5 separate regions of the Homo sapiens genome follow, and regions 1, 2, 3 and 4 are each linked to region 5. The links are contacts of gene promoters, found by promoter capture Hi-C in blood cells and fetal thymus (Javierre and others, 2016). All regions are on one chromosome and are shown on one strand. Each heading gives the region's core, a stretch centred on a gene start or on the middle of the fragment in contact. The rest is flanking DNA. Distances are from core to core; before and after follow the strand shown. Region 1 overlaps TTC3 (tetratricopeptide repeat domain 3). Region 2 overlaps TTC3 (tetratricopeptide repeat domain 3). Region 3 overlaps VPS26C (VPS26 endosomal protein sorting factor C). Region 4 overlaps DYRK1A (dual specificity tyrosine phosphorylation regulated kinase 1A). Region 5 holds the start of DYRK1A (dual specificity tyrosine phosphorylation regulated kinase 1A).

Region 1 (2,700 bases), core at 183-2,682, 160 kb before region 5:
CCCTGGAATCGAGGCTGTGTGTCCGTCATCCCAGCCCCCGGTTGGAGCCTGCTCTTTGAACTCCGCTGCCTTCCTTAGCAGCTTCTGTCCTCTTCTGTGAGTCAGTCAGCGAGTGCTTGGGATCCGCATCCAGCCGTGCTGAGCACACAACAGGCTGTGTGTGGAAATGGCCACCACCATTCTCCTTCCCCACCCCACCACAAAAAGAGAAGCTGTGTCTTTAGACAACCCTGAGGTATCTGTGTTACAATCGTTCTGTGTTTGATATTTGTGTAAAGTATGCATGCAGTCTTGTACTGTGACCTAAGAACAAAACTGTAACTGCATTAGAAACCATGAAAAAATTAGATATTGTTTTGTGACTTTTAGACAGTGGTAAATATAGAACCATGAATTCTGGTCACATTCCATTTCTCTCCAACATGAAGGATCAAAAAATGTTTTTCAATGTGTTCTTTGTTCCACTGGAAACTTAGAGTCATGAGTTTATGAGCTGATTTGGTCACCTTCCTCTGCCTTTGTTCACTGTGAGTTCTGATGTCTTAGTGACTTAGTTCTTAGAAGCTCACGCCTTAGTTTGAAACAGATTCTCCACGGTGGTCCCCAAAACACTGTCTGCATATCCATAAGAATTGAGCGCTATGGGTGTTAACGTGCATGAGGATCAGTTTGCAGCAGCAAGTACAAAAGGAGAAGAGGAACATCCGTTGAATGAGTGTGTTTTGTACATAACTTCAGATACTTGTGAACATGCCTTATATTTGTCCAACAACTGTCAGAATAAAGAACATTCTAAAATGAGAAGTTCACTGTCACTCTTGTCCATTCTTTCTTAGAGAAGTTTAAAAATGCATTCTTCTGGAAAACTTAGGACATGTATGTCATGCTAACATTTTAAGAGTGCTTTCGTCAGGAAAGAACAGCCACGCCATGCTGTGTCTGAGGAGTCTGACCAGGGATCTCAGGGCGTTTTAGGGCCTGGGTCAGAATTTTCCTTTGTGCCTGCGTAAGATCGACTATAGGAGTTCACACAGAGATGATAGAGTTTACTTCTTAAGGCTAAATTAAGAGATTTTTCATGTGAATACATATAAGGATGTTGAAGATAAATTGCATTCCTTGGTATATTTTTTGAGGCATTTGTGGATTTATGGGCCACTGAGGCTGTCGATGGGGTTTCCTCTATAGAGGGGCTTCTGGGTATGCTGAGCACTCACAGAGTGAAAGCTCATTTGAAGAAAGCTCATTTTCAAAATCTGTCTTCTGTTTTTTCAAGTGTATTCAAAGTATTATCAGTACGTATTTTTAGTCTGATGGCATTTAATTTAATTTAAAGCAATGACTATTCCTTAAGAATTTAGGCCGGCCGCGGTGGCTAACGCCTGTAATCCCAGCACTTTGGGAGGCCGAGGTGGGCGGATCACGAGGTCAGGAGATTGAGATCATCCTGGCTAACACAGTGAAACCCCGTCTCTACTAAATACAAAAAACTAGCCGGGCATCGTGGTGTGTGCCTGTAGTCCCAGCTACTTGGGAAGCTGAGGCAGGAGAATGGCGTGAATCCGGGAGGCGGAGCTTGCAGTGAGCCGAGATCGCACCACTGCACTCCAGCCTGGGTGACAGAGCGAGACTCCGTCTCAAAAAAAAAAAAAAAAAAAAAAGATTTTAGATTAGTTTTCCCTGCTGAACTGCTTAATCTATGTTATGAATAATGGATAGCCTGGTATAAAATTGAAGTGGTGCCCCAGCAATGCAAAATGTTACTACGGTTTTAAGGTAATCTCAAAGACTACAGAAGTGCCCCCACTTATTCGTGATTTTGATTTCCACAGTTTGTTACCCACGGTCAGCCGTGGTCTGAAAATAGGCAAGTACAGTGCAGTACAATAAGATATTTTAAGGGGGAGAGACCACACTCACATAATCTTTACTACAGTGTAATTGTTCTATTTTATTACTAGTTCTAGTTGTTCATTTCTTACTGTGCCTAATTTATAAATTAAACTTCATCATAGATACATATGTATAGGAGAAAACATTGCATATGTGGGGATTGGAATTTTCTGTGGTTTCAGGCATCCACTGGAGGTCTTGGAACATATCTCCCACGGATAAAGGATGTGTGTGTGTGTGTGTGTGTGCAGTCGCAGCAGGTGGTCAAAGTGCTCAACACACCACAAACTGAAGCAGTAAAACTATTTTAGAGTAGTTTTTTAGTCAGATGACTGGAGAAGGGAATTAAAGGAAACAGTAGAAGACACAATAGCAAAGATGGAAGTTCCTTCTGTCAGCCTGAGGTACTTACTCAGGAGGCTGAAAAAGCAGAGGCCGTAAAGTGATAGGATGGTTGGTCAGAATGAGGACCAAAAAGCATCTGCAGTATGACCTCAGAAAGAAAGAAGGTATCAGAAGGAGAAGCTGGGAGGGTATACAGATGAGTAAATTCCTGGTGAAGTGCTCAGCACAGTGCCTGCACACAAACTCGTGATAACCGGAGCTAACAACTAACTGTCACTAAGATTAAGGGCCTGGAAATTGCACAAGAAAGAGTAGGATAGTACAGTAGGAAAGCCGCCGTTAGTTAGGAAGTCCACTTCCTCAGTGTGGCCTGGATTGGAACACGATCCAGTGGTGAAAAGAGCAAGAAGAAATCAGATCACCTCAAAGTCGTTTTGGAAAATAACAGCTTTGTTCCTGAGA
Region 2 (2,700 bases), core at 125-2,624, 200 kb before region 5:
AGGAAAGTTCAAGTGCTAGCTGGAAGTGTAGCCTGCATCACAGTGCCTTACCTGCCAGTTACAGGAGGGCCCACCTGGAGGCCTTCCAGCGTGGGGTGCCTGCCCCATAGGACTTAGCGCATGAAGGAGGAAGGGAAAATGTGCTGGCAGCTCCTCAGAAAGAGAAGGAAAAAGGAAGACTCTGACCTACACAGGCCCAGCTTCTCCTGTCAAACCAGGGGAGGAATGAGAATGTTAAAAAGAGACAGCCAGGTAGAAACAAGAGGGATGTGTATGAGTTCTTTCCTAACAAGGAAGAGATGAAATCAAGATTCTCCTATGGTTGCCTTTATAGGGTATGAATTCATTAAATCCTTATTGAATTGCCCCACTCATTATGTTTTCTAGGAAGCTTTGAAAAAAATAGGTTAAGAGCAATGGATCATAATCATTTCCAGATATGCTAATTCTAAATAACTTTCCTAATATACATGTTTACGGAAAGCATGGAACATGATCTAAATGGGAAAAAAAACTTGAAAAAATTGTGGGTGTGTTTTAAAGTGTTACTACTTGATGGGCTTATTTTACTAGAGCGATTGAGATAAAGTGAATTTTATTTTTTGTTTTGCCCACAGGTATCTTGGAACATAATACACCAAGAAGTCAATACTGAGCCATATAATCCTTTTGAGGAACGACAAGTGAGTCAAAATTACATTAAACTGTTTAAAGGTTTAGTTTTCATTAATTTATCTAGATGGAATGATGAACTAGAACTATTTTGGAGTCAGCTTATTCCACACAAAGTTATCATGGAATAAGCTTGAGAACATAACAAAAAAATGATTTTGTTTTTATTGTTGAAATTTGAGAAGGGAAGGAAAAGGTAATTTTTTTCCAGCATACTTATTTCAAATTATAACAGCGTTATTGTTTTATTTTATTATTTTTAAAATTTTATTTATTTTTATTTTAATTATTTTTGAGACACGGTCTCACTGTCATCCAGGCTGGCCAGCTTTATTGTTTTAACTGGTATAATGAGCATATAATAATTTATAAGTAAGCTTATTCATGCGAATAATACAGAAAGATAAAGACCTTCTCTACTATAATAATGATTCAATTAGAAAACCTACTAATATAATTTAGTTCGTTAATATGCATCATAAGAGAAAAGTTGTCTTATCAACTCAAAGTTGCTGTAAAGGTATTGGATAAAATTCAGGTCACTGTCTTGACCAAAACTAGTAAGAAAATGGGAATTGATGAATATTTCTCAACATGCTAATATTTTAAGCCAAAAGCCATCATCTTGCTTAATGGTAAAACATCACCATTAATATTTATTGTTATCCTGGGTATATTAACTGAGAAAGCAGATATGAGAAAGAAAGAAGATAGAAAAGAGGAGATGTGAGTATCATTATTTACAGAGGCTAGGGCTGTGTACCAGGAAAATCCAAAATGATCAACTGAAAACCTACACTAACCTATATAAACCTATACTTGTATATAAAAATATATATAAACAATTACCTGTTAGAAAGTATGTTGAAAGAAAATATTTTCAATACCAAAAAAGAGATAAAATACTTAAATGTATATAAAGAAAAATTTTTAAATGCTATGGAGAGACACATAGAAGCCTTAAATGAAAAGATATTTCATGTACTTGGATAAGAACACATATTATGATAATGAGATTGGTTCTCCCTAAAGCTTTTTAAAATTTAACACAATCCCAGTATATACATGAACAGGGCAAATTAGTTATGTATATTGCTGTATATATAACAAACAACCTCAAAAGCTAGTGGCTTAAAACAGTAAAATATTTCACAATTGTGAAATCTCACAATTTCGCTAAGTCAGGCATTCAGGAGCAGTTTAGTTGGATGCTTCTGGAGATTCTCATGTAGCTAGCCAAGATGTTGACCAGGGCTTGGTCATCTGCGGGAGTAACTGGGCCCAGAGGTTCTACTTCCAAGATAGCTCACTCACATGGCTGGCAAGCGGATGTTGGCAGTTGTCAGGAAGCTTCAGTTCCTTGCCTTGTGGACCTCCACCTAGCCCTGCTTGACCTCATGGGGCTGGCTTTTCCCAGAGTGTGTGATACCAGGCAGAAGCGGCAGTGCTTTAGGAAGTCACAAATTATCACTTCTGCGCATTCTCTTGGTCACATAGATCAATCCACCAACCCTGATACATGGTAGGAGAGGTCTATACAAGGCTGTGACTAACAAGAGGCCTGGTTACTGCACAGGATTAATTTGAAACTAGACAAATTGATTTTAAACTTCATATGTAAAAATGAACATCAAGAATGGGTATGGAAGAGAAACTAAGAAAAGGAGTTGTGCAACTAAATATCAAAACACAATATAAATCTATCTATATTACCACATACATAGACCATTAATATGAGAGTGCCTGGCCAACATGTTGAAACCCCGTCTCTACTAAAAATACAAAAATTAGCCAGGTGTGGTAGCTTACCTGTAATCCCAGCTACTTGGGAGGCTGAGGTAGGAGAATTGCTTGAACCTGGGAGGCGGAGGTTGCAGTGAGCCAAGATCACGCCAGTGTACTCCAGCCTGGGCGACAGAGTGAGACTCCATCTCAGTCAGTCAATCAAGATGGTAGATTGGCTGGGTGTGGTGGCTCATGCCTGTAATCCCAGCACTTTGGGAGGCTGAGGTGGGTGGATCACGAGGT
Region 3 (2,709 bases), core at 115-2,614, 130 kb before region 5:
CAGGCCAGATCCCGTTGTTGTCTGCCTTACTGTGCGAGCCCAGACAGATAACACAACTTGTCTGAGCTTCTGCTTCCCTTCTGTAGAATGGGGCTCTTAAGACCCACCTGCAGCGAGACTCCAATGAGATCATGTGTGACAAGCACTCAGCACAGGGCTGGCACAAAGCAATGCTGGAAAACAGCAGCTACTTTGTAAGCGGGATTAGAAAATCCATGCAGTGAGGACTGCAACCCTGGGACAGCACCCAGCATGTCACAACCCTTCCTCGCTGGGCACCTGCTCTGAGTGCATAGCACTGCCCTGGGCACCAGAGCCAAGCTCAAGGTCACACCTGGTCCTCAGGGAACTTCTAGTTTACTGAATATGCAGTAACCCACACATCCATCAACCAACTTCCACAAGGGTCAACTCATGGCTAATCTTATTTCTCGAGACATCTGAGGTCTCTCTCCATCTGCCAACACACAGATGTAGCCTGCACCTCAAAGAAAAAGTGGGTTGGAAAACAATGTAGCATCGCACTTGCACACTTGCTTTTTTAATGTGGCAGAGCCGCATTCCATTTCTCTGCTGTCCCTAGGTTAGTTTTCTGAGCTGGTTGCTACCATGGTGCCTACTGCAAGGTGAGCTCTATTCCCCCAAGGGGAGCCCCACTGCAGAGCTGGTATTGAGCTTAAAGCAGGCTTTGAACGGAGACTGTTGCTTCAAATCCCTGTCCGTGAGCTGAGAGACTATTTAAAAATGTAATTCTACAGCAGGACCACTGTTGTAATGCCAGTCTTTAAAAAAAAATCACATAATCCACGTTTAATAAAGTTAGTTGTTGTTTTAATCGTCCAGGAAAAACTTCAGAATTATGTCAAAAATAATTTTCATAACTCGGACTCTATGCATAACTGAATCTTCCAAGAAGCTAATATTCGTATGAACAACCTGTCCGCATGAAATAAGAAGTTACTATATATATTTAAGGTACTACTGGGAGAGTAAAACATTGTTTAAAAGAATCATCCTTGTCTGCAAGGATCTTTATGTAGAATATATATACAATATATATATTCTTTTTTTGTTTTTTAATACGGAGTCTCACTCTGTCACCCAGGCTGAAGTGCGGTGGCGTGATCTCGGTTCACTGCAACCTCCACCTCCTGGTTTCAAGTGATTCTCTTGCCTCAGCCTCCTGAGTATCTGGAATTACAGGGGCCGCGCCACCATGGCTGGCTAATTTTTTTTTTTTTGAGATGGAGTTTCACTCTTGTTGCTCAGGCTGGAGTGCGATGGCGTGATCTCGGCTCACTGCAAACTCTGCCTCCTGGGTTCAAGCAATTCTCCTGCCTCAGCCTCCCGAGTAGCTGAGATTACAGGCATCCACCACCATGCCCGGCTAATTTTTGTATTTTAGTAGAGATGGGGTTTCACCATGTTAGTCAGGCTGGTCTTGACCTCAGGTGATCCACATGCCTTGGCCTTCCAAAGTGCTGGGATTACAGGTGTGAGCCACCGTGCCTGGCCTAATTTTTGTATTTTTAGTAGATACGGGGTTTCACCATGTTGGCCAGGCTGGTCTCGAACTCCTGACCTTAGGTGATCTGCCCACCTCCGCCTCCCAAACTGCTGGGATTACAGGCGTGAGCCACGGTGCCCAGCCCTGTCCATAGTTTTAAAGTAGATTCCTATAAAAGGAATTTTTAACTTTGAAAAGGGATGACTAGGATCTCTAGAAATGAGTGCTGAATATACAATTTCAGCAGACATGTTTTATGTGATAGGATAAACGCTTGCTAGCACAGCTACAAGAGTAAAGCAAGAGTAGAACAAACCTAATAAAACTTGCCTACAATTTAAATTATTGTAAAAAGAAGAAGTAGATGCACAAAGGGCAACTACGGAAGACTCTGATGATCATATGAAGTATCTAGTAACAAAGACAAACATGAACGCAACATGACTGAGAAGAATGTCAAGCTCTTCATCTAAAAAATGACAAGAAAGCCAAGCCTCTGGAAGTCAGGAATATAATACTGGCATTTGATACATATACATATATATGTGTGTATATGTGTGTGTATATATATATATATATATATATATATATTTTTTTTTTTAATTAAAAAATTTTTTTCTTAAGAGATGAGGTATTGCTATGTTGCCCAGGCTGGACTTGAACTTCTGGGCTCAAGTGATTCTCCTACCTCAGCCTCCCAAGTGGCTGGGTTTACAGGTGCATGCCGCTGCACCCAGCACGTCTATCTTTTAAATCCTTTATTCTGATTTATGATTTTTACCGTTTTAGATTGTTACAACACAATTCAATTTATGAATGAAAAATTTCTTGGCACATAATTTAAGAAAGATGATATTAGGGTTTAGCAACAAAAGTTTCTATCCAAAGAAATGTGCCTATGTTAACCTTTAGAGTAAGTGCGGTAAACAGTGCGGGCCGAGGAGTGCTGGTCTGGACCCGCAGGCTGAGGCTGGCCTGTGTGACCACAGGAAGTCACTGCCGTCTCTGGGCGGCACTTGCTCTACTATAAAACTGTAAGAAAAAGACCTGCCAAATAATGGCATGAATGAATGAATGGATGGATGGATGATGACAGATTTAAAAAAACATAATCTTAGTTTCTCTTAAATTTATTTTCTCAAAAGACGACAAATTTTGATATGAATCAAGAATTAATCAATACTTGAGAATTTTTACAAATT
Region 4 (2,700 bases), core at 66-2,565, 140 kb after region 5:
ATCAGATCAAAAAACATAGTATATAGAGGGTTTAGTCCTCTGCAGTTTCAGGCATCCAGTGGGGATCTTGGACTGTATCTCTTGTGGATAAGGAGGCACCACTGTACATGTCTCATTCACACATAGACATTTTATCTGTGATATAAATTCCTGAAAGCAGAATGACTGTTTCAAAGGGTAATGTGATTTATAATTTTGATAACTATTGCCAGATTGCCCCCCATGTGATTTTCTAATCCAGTAACTTGATTAACTTCATATAAAAACCATATAGTATTTTCTGAGAACTCACTGCCAGCTTTTCTACTGATTGTTTTCAGTAGTATCTCTTAAAAGTTTGGTTCTCAGACCACCTTTGTTGAATAAACCCTTAACAATTTGTGCCAGCCACTGGATAGAGACTGAGCCTTTTGCCTTCCTAGAGCTTACAGTGACACAAGTAAATAAAATGAACATGAAGAAAAATGGCAAGTAGCATTAGCTGTTAAAAAGAAAATAAGGATAATTTGGTAGAGAAAGACTGTTTGTTGGATAGGATGTATTAATTAGAATAGGCCAAACTCTGATATAACAGACCCCCAAAATATGGTAGCTTAAAGAGTACCAAGTTTCCTTCATTTTTGTGCAACAGTCCAGAATAGGTGTTCAGGTTAGTGGCTAGGCCGTCTTCCAGGTCCTGATCTCCTACCATCTTGTGGTTCCACCTTGCCCTAGGGCCTACTTGTCTACTGTGTCCAGCAGGCAGAAGGACTTGGGAGGTATTATCTTGTGTGCCAGGCTAGCAGTGACACAAGCTTTCATTCACATTCCATTGACAGCTTAGACATATGGCCATCAGTAAGTACAAGGGAGGCTGGGAAGTGTTGTGTAGCCATGTGCTCAGGAACGAGAAGAATATTGTGCACAACCAGTAGCTTCTGCCACAGTTGTTGAGGCAGCATCAGCCAGAGTGGTCAGGGAAGGCTCTGGAACTGAAGCGATGAAAAAGAGACATCCAAGCAATAAGAAAATCCAAGAAATAACATTTCTAGGCAGAAGGGAGCAGCGTGTTACTAGTACACTGAGGCATTTGAGAGATTTTGACCCAGGGGAGGAATGGAAGGCAGGTCTTCTTTGTTTGGAACTCAGGTAGCCAGGGATAGGATGGGTGGAGAAAGAGGTTAGAGAAGTGGGCATTGGCCAGATGATGCAGATCGTTGTATCCATTTGGGTTTATTTTGTTTTTCTAAGTGCAGTGAGAAGTCATTAAAGGATTTTAAATAGGGAAGTGATTGGATTTGTGTTAAGAAAAGATTGTTCCTGCTACCCTTTGGAGAAGGGCAAGGATGGAAACAAGGAGTTCATTTAAGGGGCTGTTGTGTTAGCGTAGGCAAGAGATGATGGGGATGAAGAGAAGAGGCCAAATTTGGAATCTGTTTCACAGGTAGACTCATAAGTTCTTGCTCATGGGTTGGACAGAGGCATTGTTGAGCAGCTAGGTAGATAGTAGTCCTTTATTGAAAGAAGAAAGATGGAGAGAGGAAGGACATGAGGGAAAAGTAAAGACTTCCTTTTGGACCTGCCCAGAATACTGTCCAGCCCTTTTCAGGAAATATTTGCTGACCCCTGGCATAAACAGGGCTCCCAAGGAAGGACAGTGGCTAGTGAAATAGATGAACCTATTTAAGGATATAACTTCCTAAAAATTGCAGCTTTCATGATGAAATTTTTTGCCCTTGAATGTATTTGGGATTTTGTGTTATAAAACTGTCTTAACACATTAAAAGTTTCAAAAACCGTTTCCCCCTGATTAATATGATGCTAGTTTGTTAGTGTCATGGCTTTTGATGGAAGATTAAAGCTTGGAAACAGTCCTCTGAAAAATCCTTTTAAAAATCTGTTCTTTCAGGTGCGTCAGCAATTTCCTGCTCCTCTTGGTTGGTCAGGCACTGAAGCTCCTACACAGGTCACTGTTGAAACTCATCCTGTTCAAGAAACAACCTTTCATGTAGCCCCTCAACAGAATGCATTGCATCATCACCATGGTAACAGTTCCCATCACCATCACCACCACCACCACCATCACCACCACCATGGACAACAAGCCTTGGGTAACCGGACCAGGCCAAGGGTCTACAATTCTCCAACGAATAGCTCCTCTACCCAAGATTCTATGGAGGTTGGCCACAGTCACCACTCCATGACATCCCTGTCTTCCTCAACGACTTCTTCCTCGACATCTTCCTCCTCTACTGGTAACCAAGGCAATCAGGCCTACCAGAATCGCCCAGTGGCTGCTAATACCTTGGACTTTGGACAGAATGGAGCTATGGACGTTAATTTGACCGTCTACTCCAATCCCCGCCAAGAGACTGGCATAGCTGGACATCCAACATACCAATTTTCTGCTAATACAGGTCCTGCACATTACATGACTGAAGGACATCTGACAATGAGGCAAGGGGCTGATAGAGAAGAGTCCCCCATGACAGGAGTTTGTGTGCAACAGAGTCCTGTAGCTAGCTCGTGACTACATTGAAACTTGAGTTTGTTTCTTGTGTGTTTTTATAGAAGTGGTGTTTTTTTTCCAAAAACAAAGTGCAAAGCTGCTTGAATCAGGAGGAGATTAACACACTGAACCGCTACAAGAGGGCAAAGCTGATTTTTTTTTTAACTTGAAAAGATTGCAAAGGGACATTGAAGTGTTTAAAAGAGCCATGT
Region 5 (2,700 bases), core at 40-2,539:
GTATACATTTATTAAATGCCATTAGAGTTGGTACAAAATACAATTTTTAGCTGGTGGCTCTCTACCGATTACAACGCAGCCAGCACAGCATACTTGGGTTTTCAAGCCTCGGGAGCTCACCCAGCAATACATAGCTAGGGAGAAGGGGTAGGGAGAATAAAAATCAGCGAAAGCCAGGATATTAATAAAGAGTTTTGATGGTTAAGGACAAGCAGGCGAATTAAGACTCTGGAAACCGAGAAGGTGTATAGAAAAGAAAACCAGAGAGCTGGACGACAAGGACACAGTAACAGCACAAGGGGATTCATCTAAAGGGCATTCCGATGGAGCAGGCAGGCTGCGCCCCGAAAGGTGGGGAGAGGTTGGAAGCAGATGGGCAGGCACAGGCGAGCGTGCACTGCCTGAAAAAGTTTTCATGATGGCTCCAGCCTAATTTCCCAACGCTGGTCTCGGGCGCCACAAAACCTGGGCGGCCCGACCGGAGCCAGGTGCCAGCCTCAGGGCCGCCGGGCCCGGCGCAGCGTCCGGAATTCCTGCGATGTCTGGGGCGCGGCGGTGGCTCCTCCCCGCCCCCACCACGGCCTCCGCCGGCATTTTCCGGCTAGGAGGCCCGCCAGCCCTTCGAAGAACCGGCTCCACGCGCGGACGGTCGCGGCCGCCGCGCTTCCCGGGGAGAGAGGCGAGCGCGGCGCCCGGACCGCGGTGAGAGCCCTCCAGGCCCGGGCGCGCGGGGTGGGCTTCCCGGGTCCCCGCCCGAAGGCCGCGGCGCCCCTCCTCCTCCCCCTCCCCCGCCCGGGGCAGCCCGCCCCTCCCCCCGGCGCGGGCGGGGCTGCGGGCGCCGACGCGGAAGCGCGGGGCGCTAGGGCTGCGGGGGCGGCGGCGCGGGAGGCCGCGCGCGCTCCCCGGGCCGCAGTCGGCGCGGGCGCGGGGCGGGGCGGGGCGGCCGGGAGGCGGCGGGCGATCGCGCACAGGCCTGGCCGCCGCCTCGCCCCCCCTTCCCCAGCCCCTACCCTCCCTCGGCCTAGCCGTCCCCCTCCTCTCCCCTCCCCCGGGCGAATCACGCGCCCTCCTCTGACACTCGTAGCGGACCCGAGCTCCGAATTTATCCTTCACGTGACCTGAGGGGGTTGGGTGGTTGGCTGGGGACAGAGGGGGAGACGGAAAGGAGGGAACGGAATCTGCCGTTACCTGAGCAACAGGCCCCGCCCGCCGGCTCGGGGCTGGGGGGCGGGAGGAGGACGTCAGCACGTCAGCCGGGGTTTTGCGTTTTGATTGACAGTTGCTATAGCGACCGGGTCGGTCCGTCGCCATTTTGTTGGTTGGTTTTTTTTTAAACCCTTTCGCTTCCCGCCCGAATAATAATAAAAAGCCCCATTGGAGTGAGGCGGGGGTGGCGGCGGCAACCGCGGCGGGGGTATCCGGGGAGACTGCTGCTGTCGCTGCTGCTGATCGCGGCCCAGGTCGGCCTCAGAGAGCGGACACCCCGAGCGGGGGGTGCGGGCGCCGCCGCCGCCGCTTCTGCTGCTGCTGTTCCTGCTGCTGCTGTTGGTGCCGCTGCCGCCGCCGGCGAGCAGGCGGGACCGGTGTGAGTGCGAGTGTGTGTGCGAGGGAGCGTGTGCGAGGGCGATTGTGCGCGCGAGTGTGCGGGTGTGTGCGAGTGTCTGTCTGTCTGTGCGGGGACTCGGGGGCGGGCGGTTCGGGCTCTCCTGGCGGAGGAGCCGCCGCCGCCGCCCGGGCCCCGGCGCTTCTCGCTGCGCAGGTTCGGAGCGCGCGCCATTTTGTGAGATTTACAAAATCCTCCTCGGGAAGAAGCCGCCGGCAGCAGCCGCCGCTCGGCGCCCGGCCTCGCCGACGCCGCCCTCTGCGCCGGGCCGGCCGTGCGGCCCCGCCGCCTGGAATCGGGGCCCGGGGACTGCGGTATTTGCCGGGGAGGGGGCTGTCGCCTCCCCGGCCCCGGGCGCCGCTGGAACCGCGAGCCGAGGAGAGACTGAGCAGGCTGCGGCGCGGCCAGGAGCCGGAGCGCCGGGGGCGGAGAGAGGCTGCCGGGGCGGCGCTGGCTGCGGAGGCCGCGGCGGGAGCGCGGCGCGGGAGCCCGAGGCTGAGACTCACCGGAGGAAGCGGCGCGAGCGCCCCGCCATCGTCCCGGTGAGTGTCCGGCCCGGCCGCGGCCCCGCCCGGCCTGGCGCTCGGCTCCCCCGGCGGCCCGCAGCCGGGCCGGAGCCGAGGCCGGCCGGGCGGAGGGAGGGACCTGCCATTTTAGGAGGAGGCGCCGCGGGCCCAGGGCCGGCCGCCGGGGGAGGGAGCCTCAGGCCGGGTCCCGGAGGAGCGGCGGGCGCGAGCGGAGGGAAAGTTGCGGAGGGTGGGAGCGGGGGCCGCGGCCTCCCGGGAGCCGGGGCCTGGGGGGCCGTAGACAGCGCCAGACCTTCACTGGCCGCCCGAGCGAAGGGGTGGAGGTTGTCTTCCTCCTCCTCCTCCTCCTCTTCCTCCTCATCCTCTTCCCCCAGCTCCTCCCTCGTCCCTCCTCTCGGTCCCCACCAGTGTGGGAACCGCCGGGGTGATTCGCAAGGACAATGCACGGGTTAAGAAAATGGGGCCGGCTGCCGGGTGGGCGAGGACGGCGGGGCCGGGCCGGGCCGGGCGCCGGCGAAGGTCGGGAGCCGCTGCCTCGGCGGCCCTGGGGGTCCGCGCTGGAGCGAGGGG

What was found. The method cuts DNA at HindIII sites, captures the fragments that hold promoters and counts their contacts. A CHiCAGO score of 5 or more calls a contact.
Region 1: a fragment that was not itself captured here is called in contact with the fragment with the promoter of DYRK1A in region 5 in 3 of 17 cell types (naive B cells, total CD4 T cells and total CD8 T cells); the score reaches 5.5 in naive B cells.
Region 2: a fragment that was not itself captured here is called in contact with the fragment with the promoter of DYRK1A in region 5 in 1 of 17 cell types (endothelial precursors); the score reaches 6.8 in endothelial precursors.
Region 3: a fragment that was not itself captured here is called in contact with the fragment with the promoter of DYRK1A in region 5 in 6 of 17 cell types (total CD8 T cells, naive CD8 T cells, naive CD4 T cells and 3 more); the score reaches 7.3 in total CD8 T cells.
Region 4: a fragment that was not itself captured here is called in contact with the fragment with the promoter of DYRK1A in region 5 in 1 of 17 cell types (activated CD4 T cells); the score reaches 5.1 in activated CD4 T cells.

Annotation. Positions count from the first base shown.
Region 1 is chr21:37,202,304-37,205,003 of GRCh38, forward strand. TTC3 (tetratricopeptide repeat domain 3) reads left to right here. Exons shown (of 46, transcript NM_001330683.2): 46 at 1-804. Among named protein-coding and RNA genes, the nearest start is that of DSCR9, 4.8 kb to the right of the region's middle. The HindIII fragment of the contact is 4,696 bases long and covers 1-2,700 here.
Region 2 is chr21:37,166,938-37,169,637 of GRCh38, forward strand. TTC3 (tetratricopeptide repeat domain 3) reads left to right here. Exons shown (of 46, transcript NM_001330683.2): 34 at 618-683. Among named protein-coding and RNA genes, the nearest start is that of TTC3-AS1, 26 kb to the right of the region's middle. The HindIII fragment of the contact is 655 bases long and covers 1,048-1,702 here.
Region 3 is chr21:37,233,783-37,236,491 of GRCh38, forward strand. The region is part of intron 3 of VPS26C (VPS26 endosomal protein sorting factor C); the gene reads right to left. Among named protein-coding and RNA genes, the nearest start is that of DSCR9, 27 kb to the left of the region's middle. The HindIII fragment of the contact is 3,584 bases long and covers 1-2,709 here.
Region 4 is chr21:37,510,023-37,512,722 of GRCh38, forward strand. DYRK1A (dual specificity tyrosine phosphorylation regulated kinase 1A) reads left to right here. Exons shown (of 12, transcript NM_001347721.2): 12 at 1,889-2,700. The coding sequence ends at 2,509. Among named protein-coding and RNA genes, the nearest start is that of KCNJ6-AS1, 7.3 kb to the right of the region's middle. The HindIII fragment of the contact is 1,046 bases long and covers 793-1,838 here.
Region 5 is chr21:37,365,484-37,368,183 of GRCh38, forward strand. It overlaps DYRK1A (dual specificity tyrosine phosphorylation regulated kinase 1A), which reads left to right and starts at 1,290. Exons shown (of 12, transcript NM_001347721.2): 1 at 1,290-2,145. RefSeq lists enhancers at 1-751, 283-362, 1,676-2,600 and silencers at 503-682, 713-1,022, 1,603-1,752, 1,943-2,022, 2,263-2,402 and 1 more. The HindIII fragment of the contact is 3,979 bases long and covers 1-2,700 here.